Linked DNA regions of Homo sapiens: region 1 is linked to region 2. Evidence: promoter capture Hi-C in 16 types of primary human blood cells and fetal thymus (Javierre and others, 2016). All regions are on one chromosome and are shown on one strand. Each heading gives the region's core, a stretch centred on a gene start or on the middle of the fragment in contact. The rest is flanking DNA. Distances are from core to core; before and after follow the strand shown.

The links. The method cuts DNA at HindIII sites, captures the fragments that hold promoters and counts their contacts. A CHiCAGO score of 5 or more calls a contact.
Region 1: a fragment that was not itself captured here is called in contact with the fragment with the promoter of SPINDOC in region 2 in 11 of 17 cell types (total B cells, naive B cells, naive CD4 T cells and 8 more); the score reaches 8.6 in total B cells.

What each region holds. Positions count from the first base shown.
Region 1 is chr11:64,161,939-64,166,830 of GRCh38, forward strand. It overlaps MACROD1 (mono-ADP ribosylhydrolase 1), which reads right to left and starts at 4,175. Exons shown (of 11, transcript NM_014067.4): 1 at 3,759-4,175. The coding sequence starts at 4,056. It overlaps LOC105369339 (a long non-coding RNA gene), which reads left to right and starts at 4,300. Exons shown (of 3, transcript XR_950187.3): 1 at 4,300-4,651. RefSeq lists an enhancer at 3,694-4,194 and silencers at 3,732-3,831, 3,962-4,041, 4,302-4,561. The HindIII fragment of the contact is 190 bases long and covers 1,595-1,784 here.
Region 2 is chr11:63,811,197-63,815,621 of GRCh38, forward strand. SPINDOC (spindlin interactor and repressor of chromatin binding) reads left to right here and starts at 2,260. Exons shown (of 6, transcript NM_138471.3): 1 at 2,260-2,617. The coding sequence starts at 2,491. RefSeq lists silencers at 341-635, 1,896-2,365. The HindIII fragment of the contact is 4,146 bases long and covers 1-4,113 here.

The DNA of each region.
Region 1 (4,892 bases), core at 440-2,939, 350 kb after region 2:
CTCACACCTGTAACCTCAGCACTTTGGGAGGCCGAGGTGGGTAGATCGCTTGAGCTTAGGAGTTTGAGACCAGCCTGGGCAACATGGTGAAACCCAGTCTCTACAATAAAGGTTTTAAAACATTAGCAGCCCATGGCTCACACCTGTAACCTCAGCACTTTGGGAGGCCGAGGTGGGTAGATCGCTTGAGCTTAGGAGTTTGAGAACAGCCTGGGCAACATGTCAAAATTCTGTCTCTACAAAAAAATACAAAAAATTAGCTAGGCGTGGTGGCGTATGCCTGTAGTTCCAGCTACTTGGGAGACTGAGGTGGGAGGATCGCTTGAGCCCAGGAGGTTGAGGAAGCAGTGAGCTGAGATCTCACAACTGCACTCCAGCGTGGGCAACAGACCTTGTCTCAAAAGAAAAAAAAAAATTAGTTGCACATGGTGATGCGCGCCTGTACTTCCAACTACTCAGGTGGCTGAGGCAGGAGGATCGCTGAGCCCAGCAGTTTAAGGGTGCAGCTAGCTATGATTACACCACTGCACTTCAGCCTGAGCAACTGAGCGAGACCCTGTCTCGAAAAAAATTTAAATTAATTTTAAAAATTTTGGCCGGCCACAGTGGCTCACGACTGTAATCCCAGCACTTTGGGAGGCTGAGGCGGGCAGATCACGAGGTCAGGAGATTGAGACCATCCTGGCTAACACAGTGAAACCCTGTCTCTACTAAAGAATACAAAAAATTATCTGGGCATGGTGACGGGCACCTGTAATCCCAGCTATTCGGGAGGCTGAGGCAGGAGAATGGCATGAACCCAGGAGGAGGAGCTTGCAATGAACCAAGGTCGCGCCACTGCACTCCAGCCTGGGTGACAGAGCAAGACTCCATCTCAAAAAAAAAAAATTTAAGAAAATTGGCCAGGCCCAGTGACTCACGCCTGTAACCCCAGCACTCCGGGAGGCCGAGACGGGCAGATCACGAGGTCCGGAGATCAAGACCATCCTGACTAACACGATGAAATCCTATCTCCACCAAAAACACAAAAAAATTAGCCGGGCGTGATGGCACGCGTCTGTAATCCCAGCTACTGGGGAGGCTGAGGCAGGAAAATCACTTGAACCCCGGAGGCGGAGGTTGCAGTGAGCTGAGATCACACCACTGCACTCCAGCCTGGGCAACAGAATAAGTCTTCATCTAAAAAACAAACAAACAAACAAACAAACAAACAAAAATTAGCCGGGTATAGTGGTGGGTGCCTGTAATCCCAGCTACTCAGGAGGCTGAGGCAGGAGAATCACTTGAACCCGGGAAGCAGAGGTTGCAGTGACATCACACCACTGCACTCCAGCCTGGACAAAAAGAGTGAAACTGTCTCAAAAAAAAATTTTTTTAAGAAAATAAAAACACACCTTCAAATTCTTTGAGATTCTTTCTTTCAAGAGGTAGAGCCTAATTTCCCTCTCCTGGAGTATGGCCAGACTCCCTGACTCGATTCTGACCCCTAGAATAAAGCAGGAGAGACTTCGAAGACGAGGTCACAAAGAAGGCACTGCAGCTCCATCGGGGTCTCCTCACGATCCCTCTCGTGGAGCATATGCTCTGGGGGAAAAGCTTAGGACATCTATCCCATGTGAGGCACTCAAGCAGCCCCATGGAGAGGCCCCAAAGTGACCAACCGAGGCCTCTCACCAAATGCCATTTTATGGGAGGGAGCTGTTTAGGAAGCCCATCCTCCAGCCCTAACCAAGTCCCACCCGGCCTCAGAGGGAGGGAGACCCTGAGCTAGAACCACCCAGCTAAGCTTCTCTCAGTTTCCTGACCCTCAAGAGATGGAGAGAATGCAGGTTTGCTGTTTTACGCCACTAAGGTTCGGGGTGTTTTGTTACACAGAAATAGATAACTATTGGGGGATCTCCACATCTCACCCCCGAAAGCGTCCCTCTAACTGTGGCTTCAGTAGCAGGCAGAGCCCCAGACCAGCCCCACTCCTTGGGCCTGGCCCACTGTCACTCAATAACGGGTCTGGAATATCATTACCCAGCTGGATGCCTCTTCTCAGGCCACCACCCCTGAGACGCCTCCTCTGATCTCCCCAGCTCAGGTGGCCCCATCTGCTATGGTGTCTTCACAGCACTGAGGTTACCGGGCCTTGTCTCAGCTGCTAGAACACATTCTTTACAATAGATGCTTTGTAATCCTCACACCAGATTACAAGCTCCATGAGGGCAGGGCCCTTGCCTATCTGACACATGTCTGAGTCCCCAGCCTGACCACCTAGGGGGCGTTCAATAAAAGTTTGCTGCATGATTGGAAATCCCACCTCGAAGCAAAAGGGAGACCCCAGTGACAACACAGCAGCCCAGGAACCCCAGCCCCATCACAAGGTCCGGTTGCTTTCCTGGCACCAAGGAGTGGGGCTGTGGGGGCTGGATCCTAAAAACAGCGGCAGCCCTCGAGCAGGTGCCTGGGCACCTTGTCTCCGTAGCTCTTTCCCACCCTCCTGGGTTGTTGTCCTCTGAGAGAGTGCTCAGGGGAGCAGGGGTCTCTGTGGGGACAGTGGCTCCCCCTCCAGGGGTCTCTGCCAGCCCCAAACTCCTCCTGCTGTTCTGGGGCAAGGGCCAAGTGCCTGACAAGTTCTCCATCTGCTCACGGGCTAAAGTCGGTGCTTTCTGCCGTCACTTTTAGATCCTGGCGCAGGCCACACAATTCATGTCAGGAGTAAATCATTTTGATTTCCACCTCTGGTCCCGAGAAAGCCATCTTCTCTTCACCCCTAACACCGCAGGACCCCCCCATCCTGCCTGCCCAGCCCAGAGGCCACACCTACTCCACCACGGAGGCCCAGCCAATTAGCCACTTCCCTGCACTTTTGAAAGGGGATCCAGCCGGGAAGAGTCACAGGATCCCAGGAGGCAGGCCCTGAAAGGCAGGGGCAGCTGGGTGCCCGGCAGGGCTATTTGGGGCTCAGTAGCGGCAGCTTGGGTTCTCTCTCTCCCCAGGCCCCAGACTCATGCCCCCTCCAGGAGCAAGAGGAAGTGGTGTGATTCTTGAAGGGTGTCATCAGTTGTCACAGGGACAAGACCCCACCTCTGCCCTGCTCCTCTAACCTCTGTTCCTGGCATGAGCAAACTGCTCACAAGTGGCCAGAGGCCAGCGAGAAGGGGAAAAGGGCGCCAGACCACGTGCCCAGGAAGGCATCAGAGTGCGGGCTTGGGGTGGGGTGGAGGCAGGACAGGCCAGCCCAGGAAGGTCACTCTGTGAGGTTACGTGCCCCACCAGGTGGGACGCCAGCCCCGGAGCTGTTCCCTCAGCCCCATTCCCGAACACTTAAGAACCACACTGTGCAAAGTTTGGAGAGTCCGGGATCATAACCTCCACTTTGCCACCAGCTCCGAGTGACCTTGGGGAAGCCAGCTGTGGCACTCGGCCTCAGTTTCCCTCCTGCACAGGGAAGGAAGTTGGTAGGTCCTGCACAATCTCTGGGGTGCCCTGTGACCCATTCCAATGGGGTAAGGAAGGCCGCCTTCCTCACGCTGCCCCCTGCGTGGACACTTGGACCTGGTCTGGAGTGAATTGTTCTGTGGGGCTGGGAACACGCGCGGGGGCGGGGGGGGCTGTCAATGGGGAGGAGGGGTCCGTTCCAGGGCAGATGGGGCCTCAACTTCCCCAGGTCTCTCGGGTGGAAGGGGCTGCTCGCTCGTTGGGGGCCGCCCAGCCGGGAAGCTCCACGTGAGGCCGCCCTCTCCCTCGCGCCCCCTCGTGCTTACACTTACATTTCGCCTCCTTCCAGTCGGTGGAGGTGCTCAGGTCCACCTTCGCCGCCATGGCCAGGGGGGCCCAAGTGCGCACCCCGGCTGTCCGCCCCACCGCCGCCGCCCCCCACGCCCCAACTCCCGCCGAGGTCCGCGCACGGCGGCCGAACACGCCCAGGAACGCCGGGGGACCGCACGTGCTGCTGCGGGTCCTCGTGGCACCCGCCAAGTGTCCGGGCCGGGGGCGCGGGGGGACGAGCAGCTGCCCCGCCGCGCGCAGCTGTGCCAGGCGGCCGGACAGTCGGCTCTGTAGAGACATGAGCGGGCGGCGCGGGACGGCTCTCCGCCCACTTGGACTCTATTTACGGCGCTCGGGAGTGTCTCTCCCTTATTTACTCTGGGACCGGGTGGCGACTGCCAGCCAGCGGCGACCTGCTCGGAGCCAGCGGGAGGCGCGGCCAGAAAACCCGGGAGCGCCGCTGGGCACCCTGGAACTTGTAGTCCGGGCCGCCGGATGGGCCCACGCACTCGTATACACACGTGCGCGCCCGCCCGGGCTCCCAGTGTCGCGGATGGAGCCCCGCCTGAGCCCTTCGACTTCTCCCGTGGCCGCCAGGCGCCTCCCCTCCGCGAGACCTCGGCCGCCTCTAACTTTCTGGTTGGCTGAGCGTCGGCTTCCCCGGCACGGGCTGAAGCCCCCGGGCCTTCCACGCAGCCCCGGGCCCCTCTGCCGCTCGGCCCCGCGGCGGAGCAGGCGCGCCGGCCGCTGCGTATCGAGCTGGGAGAGCCTGGCGCGGCTTCCGCAGTGCCGAGCGTTTTGCAGCCTGGGAGACCCGGGCTTCTCTCCCCGCGGGTCAGCAGGGCACCGCCTCCACACCCCAGCCTGCCCTCCTAGGGACAGGTGCGACGAACGGGTAAATCCGGTTTGGGGACTTCTCCCCAGAGCCTCTGCCTTCTAACAGCCCCGGGGCCAAGGCTCAGCTGGAGCAGAATCTAGGACAGCTGGGGAGGAGAGTCGAGGGTGGAAATAGTGGAATTTGGAGGCAGGAAACTTAGGCTTCAAGTGGCGTTCAAGGGTGGAAGGATTGGGGTGATGTTTTTGTGTGTGTCTGTGTGTTTTTTTTTTTTTTTCTTTTCTTTTTTAAACAAAAACCG
Region 2 (4,425 bases), core at 1,010-3,509:
ATATGACCTAAAAGAAATAATGTCTACTAATTGGGTGGTACAATACTGGGTGTATCACTCAAGGTTCAACCAGGAAAATAGGAACCACTTTTTTTTTGAGACAATCTAGCTCTGTCGCCCAGGCTGGAGTCAAGTGCAGCGGCATGATCTTGGCTCACTGCAACCTCCGCCTCCTGGGCTCAAGCAATCTTCCTGACTCAACCTCGTAAGTAGCTGGGATTACAGGCACACACCACCATGCCGGGCTAATTTCTTTTTTCTTTTTTCTTATGGTAGAGACAGGGTTTCACCATGTTGGCCAGGCTGGTCTCGAACTCCTGACCTCAAGTGATCCACCTGCCTTGGCCTCCCAAACTGCTGGGATTACAGTTGGGAGCCACTGCGCCCCGCCAGGAGGGAACCACTTTAAGTATTGAAAACAGAGAGAATGTAATGCAGGGTTTTGGTGACACGATTAACAGGGGTTAACAGGGAGGTCTGGAAAGCCCAGCAGGGGACAGAGAGAGGCAGTACAGAGACTGGCAAAAGCAAGAAGCTGCCTACAACTCCTAACCTGCAGGGACAAAAAGAGGAGGTGGACTGAGTAGAGCCCAGGGGCATGGATCATCCTACAGATGTTGGGACCACAGCTACCTATCCATGAGCTGGAGCCACAGAGAGGCCTCATCTGCTGCTGGAGATGTCACCTGAGCCTGAGCAAGAGAGAGAAAGAGAAGAAATACCATGGCTCTTTCTTTCCTCCTGCCTTCTCTTCTCCTGCCACTGCCTCCCATTGGCTAAACCGAGGCCTGAAGCCAGATGCTCTGGGAGCCTGAGAAACTGCCCCCCGCAAGACTCAGCCCACTGCAATACAGAGCAGAGCAGAGGGGCACGGAAGGGATCTGTAGCAAATGGTAGAGAATGACCATTCAGCAGAAATAGTTAAACAGGCTTGGTAATACCTTTGTTGTAAAACCTTTAAAATATCAGATACACTTGCACATAACAAAATAATTCCCTTAAAAATAGACTGCAAGGCCAGGCGCGGTGGCTCACGCCTGTAATCCCACTTTGGGAGGCCGAGGCAGACGGATGATGAGGTCAAGAGATCAAGACCATCCTGGCCAACATGCTGAAACCCCGTCTCTACTAAAAATACAAAAATTAGCCGGGCATGGTGGCACGTGCCTGTAGTCCCAGCTACCCAGGAGGCTGAGGCGGGAGAATAGCTTGAACCTGGGAGGCGGAGGTTGTGGTGAGCCGAGATAGCGCCACTGCACTCCAGCCTGGTGACAGAGCGAGACTCTGTCTCAAAAAAAAAAAAATTAAAAAATTGACTGCAATCCATATAGACTAGTTCACACCTCTTCTCACACCCCCATCCTACTACGCGATTCTGAATACTACTGTGTCTGGTCTGATATAACGACATTCGAAGATGGATTTTCAGTGTCAGACATTTTGCATTTTCTGAGCTGAAATCTCATGAGGGTTGCTATAGAAGAGGGAGATGCACATTCCATGTCACAGAAGTAAAAGCTCACCCAGAGTGTGGTTATAGGGCAGCAATGTCATGGCAACTGGACTCTGGTCTTGGGGCTCTCAAGGGATTGCTGTGTGTCCTTGGAGAGGGTCACAAAATCTCCGGACTCCCGTGCCAAAAATGGAAATCATACCCATCAGGGTGGTTTATGTCCGCTCACAGTCCACTCTGCTTCTCTTCTTTGCCTTCCCAGAAGGGTCCAAAATGGTTTTTGAAAGAAACGATGAGCCGGACTAAGAAAACAGATAATGTGCCCACGGCCACGGAGCTGGCAGATGAGAAGGAATTCGGTCTCTGCGTTTCCATACCAAGGCCCTTTCCACTCACCCACCGCTTCTCTTCCTGCCCGGGGCATCTGCTGGCGGAGGAAGGCTTGTCCACGGAAAGGCAAAAGCGACTCCCGATCAAAATCCGGGGGCACCTGGTAGCGCTCTCCACGCCAGCAGAAACGCCCAACTGACTTCTTAATGGAGGGAAACCCCGGGCTTGGCCCGCAGACTGAGGGGCCCGCGTTGCGGGTTTTGGGGGCCCCTCTGCCTCTGCGCACCGGGTGGCCCCGGGTCCCCTCGGCCCTTCCCGCCGCCTCCCGGGTCCAGGGTTTCTAACGGGGCCGCGTGCCCGGGGCGGGGCCACGCGCGATTGGCCGCGCGGCATCGGGGGCGGGTCCGCGGCTGGCCGGCCGGGCGGGCGCCGACAATGAGCCTCCATAAAAGGGAGCGGCGGGGGGCAGGGGCCCCGGATTGAGCCCTCCCCGCCCGGGCTCCCGACGCGCCGAGGTCTCGGGGAGGCCCGGACGCGCCGGTCGCAGGCCCGGCCGGCGAGCGGCGGGCGGGCGGCGGGGAGGGGGCTGCGCGGGGCGGGCGGCGGGCCCGGCGCTATTCCGGCCAGGAGGCGGGAGGCGGTTGCCGGCTGCGCGCCGAAGCCTGCGCGCCAGTCCTCCGGCCACTGCTATCGCCCACGGCCGCACCATGGCCCTAAAGGCCGAGGGCGCCGCACTCGACTGCTTCGAGGTGACGCTGAAATGCGAGGAAGGGGAGGACGAGGAGGAGGCCATGGTGGTGGCCGTAATTCCGCGGCCCGAGCCGATGCTCAGAGGTGAGGATGGAGGGGATTCCACTTCCGCGTCACGGTGCGGGGCCGGGGCTGGGGCCGTCCCTCCCCAGTCGGGGTCCGGGACCCGGGCACCTTCTCACCCCCTTCAGCCTTGGGGCCCAGGTTTCCCTCTCGGATCTGGGTCCAGGGCGCGCTCTTGCACCTCCCCCACCATGGTTTAGAAGCTCAGGCCTCCTCGATTTCCCCCTCCCTTCCCCTTTCCCCCGCCCAGGGTCTGGAGACTTCGATCCACGCCCCGCACGCTCCGGATCTTCCGGTGCCCAAGCGCCCCCTCTCCCGGGCCCAGCACCAGAGGCCGGATCCCCAGAGGCGCTGGGTGGTTGCGGCCGCCGTCTCACAGCCTGGGAAGGGGAGGCAAGCACAACGGCCGGGCTGTGTTCTAGTCCGAGGGGCGGCGAAGCCTCTAGGCCGGAGGCTACAGGCGGGCGCCGCTGCCGACCTCCAGGAGAATTTTAAGGGCTCTCCGAGCATAACGCTTCCCTGCCCACCACCCCGCTTCATTCCCATTCCCGGGCCTTCCACTTGCAGGAGCCACAGGTGTCAAGTTCTGGAGAGAAGGGATGAATGGGACTGCATACAACAGCTAGTTTGGAAAAGCAGTGCAGTGCTAGAACGAGATTAGCTTTGGGAGGGGATGGGAGGAACAATCTCAGAACACTCGCTCTCCCCTCCCCCTTCACCGATTTCTAGTCCTCAGGAGCTTGCAAACCGTAAGAAAACAAAGAGCCATCTTTGTGGGAGACTTAATATGCATGAAAATGCAAATATATTTCCATTCTCCCACCCCGCTTTTCTTAGGCGGGATAGTACCCAAAAGAGGTTGAGAGCAGCAATGCCATTCATTGAACTTCAGCCGAACAGAATGATGTCTGCCTGCACTGCCTGTCATCCTTTTTGGAACTGGAAGGGTTATAAAATTCATGAGGGAAATAAAGGTCACCTCCCTTCTCGGAGCATTTAGTCCAAAAGATAGGTTGTTTTCCTACTTCTGCTAATATTTGTTGAGTGTTCATTGGGCATTGTCAGAGGCTGTCTCAGTTAATCCTCTCAACCCTGCAAGGGTGGCCTTATCCCCACTGTTAGGGCAGGAATAGACAGGTGAATTCATTCAACCAATATTCACTGGACGTCTACTTTAGGCTGTTTAGGCTAGTGTTTTTAGGCTGGGAAGTAGTAGTAAACAGAGCAACCGAAACCCTGCTCTTGAAGAACATATATATACCAATGGCTAAAGACAGAGAAATAGGTTCATGTATAGTATGTTGGGTGGCAATAAATGGTTCAGAGATCACTAAAGCAGGAAAAGGAGAAAGAGGAGGAATGGGTATTTAATTGAATATATCGAGTGGTTCAGAAAGGGTTTTCTAATAAGGTGAATTTTGAGCACAGACCCGAAGGAAGTGAGGATGCCAACCTTGCAGATATCTGCAGGAAGAGCATTTCAGGCCGAATAGCAAGTGCAAAGGTCCGGCAGCACAAGCTTCTGGAAAGATTTCGGTGGAGAGAGGAAGAAAGATTGAATTCAAGGTTTTTGGCCTGAGCAACTGGAGGAAGAGCCTTCCCATTTTCCGAGATGGGGAAGGCTGCGGTGCTCTTGGGAGACTGGGAGTGAAAGTTTGAATATGATTACGTTTGAGATGCCTATTTATGACATATTCAGGTGGAGAGGTCAACTAAGCAGTCAGATACATGGGCCTAGATTTCCTGGAAGTATCTAGCTAGTGGCGTAAACAGAAATTGCCAGCAGGCAGACAGTGGGAAGAGAAGGAAGTAGAGAAGTGTCTAAGGAC